2 separate regions of the Homo sapiens genome follow, and region 1 is linked to region 2. Evidence: promoter capture Hi-C in 16 types of primary human blood cells and fetal thymus (Javierre and others, 2016). All regions are on one chromosome and are shown on one strand. Each heading gives the region's core, a stretch centred on a gene start or on the middle of the fragment in contact. The rest is flanking DNA. Distances are from core to core; before and after follow the strand shown.

Evidence for each region. Contacts are between HindIII fragments. The CHiCAGO score rates a contact against its expected background, and 5 or more counts as called.
Region 1: a contact is called between the fragment with the promoter of CASC11 here and the fragment with the promoter of CYRIB in region 2, in 1 of 17 cell types (non-activated CD4 T cells). The highest score is 6.4, in non-activated CD4 T cells.

What each region holds. Positions count from the first base shown.
Region 1 is chr8:127,731,912-127,735,440 of GRCh38, reverse strand. It overlaps CASC11 (cancer susceptibility 11), which reads left to right and starts at 1,474. Exons shown (of 4, transcript NR_117102.1): 1 at 1,474-1,616. It also overlaps a transcript of MYC not described here. RefSeq lists a silencer at 1,280-1,399, a cis regulatory region at 1-2,724 and an enhancer at 2,304-2,805. The HindIII fragment of the contact is 10,989 bases long and covers 1-1,696 here.
Region 2 is chr8:130,014,466-130,018,133 of GRCh38, reverse strand. It overlaps CYRIB (CYFIP related Rac1 interactor B), which reads left to right and starts at 1,574. Exons shown (of 14, transcript NM_001353258.2): 1 at 1,574-1,764. RefSeq lists silencers at 1,362-1,421, 1,472-1,541, 1,632-1,821, 2,012-2,281. The HindIII fragment of the contact is 5,812 bases long and covers 1-3,668 here.

The DNA.
Region 1 (3,529 bases), core at 225-2,724, 2.3 Mb after region 2:
AAACTCCCATTGCATTTGTTGGGGGGAGTCATGTATTATGCATTATGTATGCACAGCTATCTGGATTGGATACCTTCCACCCAGACTGAGTCCCCCAATTTGCTGCCAAAGCAGCAGATACCGCCCCTCCTGCCCCGCCTGCTCAGGCTTCCGTGGGGCCCCGTGCGGGAGGCGTCTGTTTAGCCCTGAGATGTGTCTGCCTGTTCCAGAGCTGGGCTAGGGCGAGAGGGAGGTTGCCTGCTCTCTGCCAGTCTGTACCCCACCGTCCCACCCCCACGCCTCCCACACGGAGTTCCCAATTTCTCAGCCAGGTTTCAGAAGAGACAAATCCCCTTTGCGCCCTGTGGCGCCGGTTTGCAACAGTCTCGGGCTGCCGGGTTTGGGAGAAATCAAAGGTGCTAGACGGGAGAATATGGGAGGGGCAGGGGGTACCCGAACCGCGGGACCGGACTTCCTAAAAGGGGCAAGTGGAGAGCTTGTGGACCGAGCCGGGGGAGTCAGCAGAGACCCTTGTGAAAAAAACCGTTAACTCTTTCCTCCCCGGACAAACCGGACGTTTAATTCCTTTCCAGGTCCTCTTTCCCCTTTTATTATTGGAAATGCGGTCATGCACAAAAAATGCATCGATTCTGATCAAAGAAGAGGAGAGGAGTATTACTTCCGTGCCTTTTTTTGGGGGGGGGGGAGTCTTGAGCTAATTAAAATTTGGCTGCCTTCCAGGCATTAATTTCCTAGTTCACTGACTCACAATTTTTTCTGAATACTAGTGAAAGTGCACTGTATGTAACCCGCAAACGTGTATTCACATTTTATTTACGCTTCGACTTAGCTAGTTGCCCAGCCCCACACATGATTTGTTTGCTCCCTGAAATGATCTATATTTAATATATAATGTATATTCCCTCGGGATTTTTTATTTTGTGTTATTCCACGGCATGAAAAACAAAAAACATTCTTCTCATCCTTGGTCCCTCACCCAAAGGCATTTTAAGTAAACTTTTCTCTCCCTCCACCACCTCCAAAAGAGAAAACAATTCGGGGGAAAGGGGTGCGTGTATAGCATGTACGCTGTTCAAGATGGGTTATTACCCGTTGAGTTTGCAGCTCAGCGTTCAAGTGTTAAGTGAATATAGTAGCTTCCAAATCCGATGCACTGCACAATTCAGCTTTAAGGATTGCAAATTACTCCTGCCTCCAGGCCTTTGCCGCAAACGCGGGGAGCAACCAATCGCTATGCTGGATTTTGCTGCAAAGCGTCTTTCCCTCCGCCCCCTCTCTGGGCAGCACCCGCGTTCAGGTTTGCGAAAGTAAAGTAAGTGTGCCCTCTACTGGCAGCAGAGATCATCGCGCCTGGATGTCAACGAGGGCGGGGGTCAGGTGGGGGCAGGAGCAGGAGCGTCCGAGGTGCAAGGTTTCCAGCGGGGGAAGGACAGGCGGTTCCTTAAAACAAGTTTCCAGCCACCTCCTTGTTATTCTTTCAGGTTGGCTGCAGAAGGTCCGAAGAAAGAGGAGTTACTGGAGGAAAAAGTGGTTCAGAGGTGACTATTCAACCGCATAAGAGATGGTGAAAATTAACCTATCACCACTGCTAATGAACATCACCCTATGGAGAACCGGTAATGGCAAACGTGAAATAATTCACAAGTACATAGACGAAAAAAAAATTCCAACAAACCCTAAAACGGCCAAACAAGCTTTAGCCCCCACGTCTTAGAAACTCATCATCTTTTTTAACCACAAAATTTGAAAGCAAGACACTGGATTTATTGGGGAAAGGGGAGGCACAGCAGAAGGTGATGGGTATTTGGTTTGGCCTATTATTATTAATTATTATTCTTATTATTTTTGAGACAGGGTCTCCTTCTGTCACCCAGGCTGGAGTGCAGTGGCACAATCAAAGCTCACTGCAGCCTCGATCCCCCCGGGCTCAAAGCAAACCTCCTACCTCAGCCTGATACCCCAGCCCAGTAGCTGGGAGTGCAGTGCACCACCACACCCGGTTAATTTTTTAAACTTTTTGTAGAGAGGCAGTCTGGTCATGTTGCCCAGGCTGGTCTCAAACTCCTCGGTTAAAGCGATCCTTCGGCCTTTGCCTCTGAAACTGCTGGGAATACAAGTGCGAGTCATCGCTCCTGGCCTTGGCTTATTATTTTTACTTTTAAAATATTGGGCTGGTGAATAATAAGTGATTTTTTTTAATAGCAAGAAGGGGTATTTGAGATCTCATAGAAAAAAAGTGTGAAGGAATAGGAGCATTTTATTAAAGGTTTTAATACTAAAATGAGTATGCAATAAGGTTGAAGTAAATGTGAAGGAAATTTACCTGGCACGTGTCCCTGGTCAAGTAGGTTTTTACGGGGCAAAGAATCCCTGACGGTGTCTGATCACTTAGATGCCCTAAGGACTTCTGGCAGTGGAGGTTCCTTCCCGCAGGAGCCTTGTAGGCTGATTTCCCAGGAATCTGGCACTTTTGGCATTACTCTAATTGAAGCTAAATGAGTGCTCTCCACAGGGGCATGCACTCCCCGCCCCTCAAAGAAAACCCTCAACAACAAACAAACAACAATGGCAAAACCAAAAGTAGGTCCAGCTTGACCTCATAGGGTAGTTTTTGAAAGTTGCTAAAGATGGCGGATATACCACATCTTCGGATCTGACTCTCAAATTATGCCAGTCCAGTGTAGGGCATGTGAACCCCAGGCAGATATAATGCCTGTGGGTTCAGAACTTAACCTCACTCTCCCTCAGGCTGGTGACATCACCTGAGGTGTTACTTTCAAGTAACAGCTTGGAGTTGTTTTGTGCCATCTCCATTTTTACATGAGAGAAAACAAAGCCAGACCTCAGCCAGGTTAAAGGACATAACTGATTTTCTTTTAGTAATTTTTGAGACATATTTGACCTAGAATAGACATTTGCTGGGTTGAAAAATGGCTGAGATTACAACTAGTATCATGTATAACTACCAAAGTGATACGTGTCCATTGGAAAAATCCATTGAGAAATAGAAAAAGAAAGGAAAAGGCCGTGTGTGGTGGCTTATGCTTGTAGTCCCAGCACTTTGGGAGGCTCAAGTGGGAGCATCGTTTGAGGCCAGGAGTTCGACAACAGCCTGGGCAATGTGGTGACGTGCCATCTCTAAAAAAAAAAAAAGAAAAAAAAAAAAAGAAAAGAAGAAGAAGAAAGAAAGAAAAGAAAAGAGAGTTTTTTCTTCTTTAATTTTTTTTTTAAGACAGGGTCTCACCCTGTAGTCTAGGCTGGAAGGCAGTGGAATAATCATGACTCACTGCAGCCTCGACCTCCCTGGACTCAGGTGATCCTCCTACCTGAGCCTCCTGAGTAGTTGGGTCTACAGGCACAAACCCCACGCTTGGCTAATTTTTGAATTTTTTTTTTTGTAGAGATGGGGGTCTCACTATGTTGCCCAGGCTGGTCTCAAACTCCTAGACTCTGGTGATTCTCCTGCCTCAGCCTAAGTGATTCTCCTGCCTCAGCCTTCCAAAGTTCTGGGATTACAAAGGCATTAGCC
Region 2 (3,668 bases), core at 325-2,824:
TGGCACCATCTCAGGGTCCCCAGCTCCGAGAACTGGGCCTGGCCAAGAGAAGGCGCAAGGCACCTTTGTTAAAGAATTGGCGGGCTGGGTGTGGTGGTTTATGCCTGTAATCCCCACACTTTGGGAGGCGGAGGCAGGGAGGATCCCTTGAGCCCAGGAGAAACAGGCCAGCCAGGGCAACACAGGGAGACCCACCTCTACAAAAATCTATAAAAATTAGCTGAGCATGGTGGTGCATACCCGTGGTCCCAGCAACTCGGGAGGCTGAGGTGGGAGGATCGCTTGAGCCCAGGAATTTGAGGCTGCAGTGAGCTATCGCATCACTGCGCTACCTAGCCTGGGAAACAGAGCAAAATCCTGTCTTAGACAAAAAAAAAAAAAAGAAAGAAAAAAGAAAAGAAATGGAACAACTGGCTCCTAATCAGGTAACTCAGCACTGAGTATGATGTGAGCACACTCCAACCCCCCTATAGCTGGAGGTGGAGGTGGAAAGACAATGGAAGCCTTTGATGTAACCCTTTTGATACCCTGCTAGAGGACAGCAGAAAGATACTTGAGAGAATGTTGTCTATCTTCCCGAGAAATTTCTGGTTGAATGTCAAGATAATGATAGGATGGGCTTCTGGGCCAGGGGAGCAAGGCAGAGGGAAGGAGAGTATCAGTTTCCTAGGCATGTCCTGTTACAGGGAGAAAAACACAGTATTTTCCATTCTAGATCAGGGGAAAGATGAGGTCTCCCATAATACCTGAAACTGGAATTATGGCGAGGAGCTTTTTATGTGGGAATTTCTGTACTAAATTTAAAGTCCTTGGAGAACCGCTTAGGGTAGCACCGACAGCCCGCACCGTCCCCTCACCCCGCTTTATTTTTCCTCTGGCACAGCACTTAGCACCATAGGACCCATCAGATATTTACGGCCTGTCCCCGCTGCCCCTCCCGGGCAGGGATTTTGTTTTGGTTCGCAGCTGCAGCTCCAGGGCCTAGAACAGCCCGGGCACTTAGTAGGCCCAGTAAGTATCTGCGGGAGGGCTGAATGGGTGCGTGGACAGCATTCCTCTCACTGACCCCGCTGCGAGGTGAGCCAGGCAGGGGCTGTCACCATTCCTGAAGTCCAGGTGAGGGGGAAGCGACCCAGGGATGGGAACCTGGCCGGCCTGAAGGTCTGGAGACCGGGGTTCGAGCCCAAGCCCTGCCTGACAGGCAGTGACCTTGGGGGTCACTCTTGCGCCTCTCGGAGCCGGGTTTCCTCCTCGCACAATGAGGGCGATGACCCCCAATCGCAGCGCGCCCCGCGGTGACTTGCCCAAGGTCACCACCGTCCCGGGCCCGTGGCGCCCCGGCTCGGGAGGACACGGGCCAGGCGGGCGCGGGGTTCTGGGGTGGGGGCCGGCGCGGGGCGGTCCCGGGGCGCGGCGCGCGCTGACGCCGGGGCCCCGCGATGCGGCGGGGACTGGGCGCGGGGGGAGGCGCGTCGCGAGGCGAGCGTCCTCCTTTTGTGCGAGCGCCGGCGGCTCGGCTTCTCGAAGGTAAACAGCGCTTCCTCTTCCTCCTCGCCGCGCCTCTTCCTTTTATAGTTATTTCTCGCCTGGCACTCGCCCGGGCTGCTGCTGCTGCTGCTGCTGCCGCCGCGGCGGGGGCAGCTCGCAAACCTGTGGCGGTGACGTGAGCCCCGCCAACCCGGAAACGGCGGCGGCGGCGGCACCGGAGGCTCCGAGGCTCCTGCGCTCCCGCGCCGCGCTCCCCTCGCCCGCCCGGGCCGCCAGGTACGTGCCGGGGCTCTGAAGGCGCCGCCGCCCGGCCGGCCCGCGCGCGCGCCCCTGGATCCGATTTGCCCCCGGAGAGGGCGCGGGGTGCGGGGCGCGCGCGTGATGGGTGCGGGGAGAGGCGGAGGTACCATCCGGGCCGCCGGGCCGGGCGCTGCGGCGGGTGGACAGGGGGCGCCGCCGTGGTGGGGGCGTCCGGGCCGGCGGGCGCGGGGGTCCCGGGGGAGGCGCCTCGAGTGCGCGGGGGGCGGCGGGCGGACGCGAGGGGAGCGCGCAGCGGGGCCGCCGCCCGGGTCCACCCAGCTGCGGAGCCGGCGCCTTGTGCGCCTCGAGGCAGGGGGCGCTCGGGTCGGGGTGGCTGGTCCCTGGCAGACCCTTCCTGCGAGCCGGGTGTCGGTGCGGGGACTGACCCCGGGAGCAGCGCTGGCCCCCGGCCACCTCCCATCAGGGGCTTGGAAGACCAGTCGCATTGGATTTGAGGAACTAGAGGGGGTGAACAAAATCTCCACTGGCCTCAAGACTTCCTCCTGGGGTAGCCACCCGCCTGTGTTTAAAGAGCACTTCCTCTTCGCCTTTTATCTTTTCATTATCTTTCTTTTTAAATGGAAGTTCAGTGTTAGCGGGTGGGTGCCCTTGCAGCCTGCAGGGCTTTCCTGGGGCTGTGTACACACACACTGGGGTTGGGAAAAACCTGTGTGTCCTTTGAAACGTGTGTCCTGTGTCAGGAGTGGAACGAAGGAGGAATCGAGGTCTTACCATGCTGGAGCTACTTGGAGTGTGCCTTTGCTACCCACCCTGCTGCAAGAGGTGGAGGGGTGCGGAGGGATAGAGCTGGGGCTGCGGGGGAGTGTCACATGCACTTTGCAGCTATGTTTAATTCCTGGCCCTGCCGCTTACTAGCTGTGTGACCTTGGGCAAGTCGCTTACCCTCTCTGAGTCTTAGGGTCCCGTCTGTGAAATGGGCTGCTGCGAGTGGGGCCTTGAGAAAACGAGCGTAGATTTCCTGGCCTGCAGGGGGCGCAGTGATAGAAAGTGTCATTGCCAGTCACCTTGAATTTCTGCATCCCCAGCACCTAGAAAGGGTGCGTTGAAGCACGTGGGAAGCACCCCATAGATAATTGTGAGATGAACGAGTGGGTGGTGAATTTTGAGAGGTGAGTCGGTGTGCTTCCACATTTTGGCTTCCTTGCCCTGTAACATCCATCCAGGATCTCCAGGGAGCAATTTTGCTATCTGGGTTGGATGGACTCCTCCCCTCTCTGAGGAAGACCATCTTGTGAAAATACTGACTCCCTTGTGAAAAAGGGCTTAAACTCTGACTTTGAGACTCTCCCATTCTTGGAAGATTGCACTGGGGGAAAAATAAAAAGAAGGCGTCATTTTGATTGCCACCGCCAGGTGACTGGCTGAGGCCAACAGCCAAGACTGAGCCAGGGCTGACGTCTGGGATGGTTTCCCAGGCCTGGGGTTCCTGTAATGTGGGGGAAGCCCGGAAGAGGTGACTTTTCTACCTTGGTCGGCATGCAGAAGTGGTCAGCTGGCCTGAGTTTTCTTCCTGAGGAGGCACATTGGAATTTGCACTCTAGATCCTTGCTGGGCTCACAGCACGGAGAAGGGCAGAGTGTGTGATGCAGGAGGCTGAAGTGGGTTCCAGCACAGGGAGACTTGGAAATGGTTTTCAGATAAAGGCCAATATATGTTTCTGCCCTTCACTTTGGGAGATTTTCAAGTAATTTTGCTGTCTCTGACAGCCACCCCTTCTCCTTTCTCAGCTCCCAAAGTCTTCTGTGTGCCTCTCTTAGGATCCTTAGCTATGTGGGTCCCCCAACTCCCGACCCCCGTAAGTGCTACTATTATTTTTAAGAGACAGTGCAGACCCTTCTGTGCAGCAGCGTGCTGCAGTT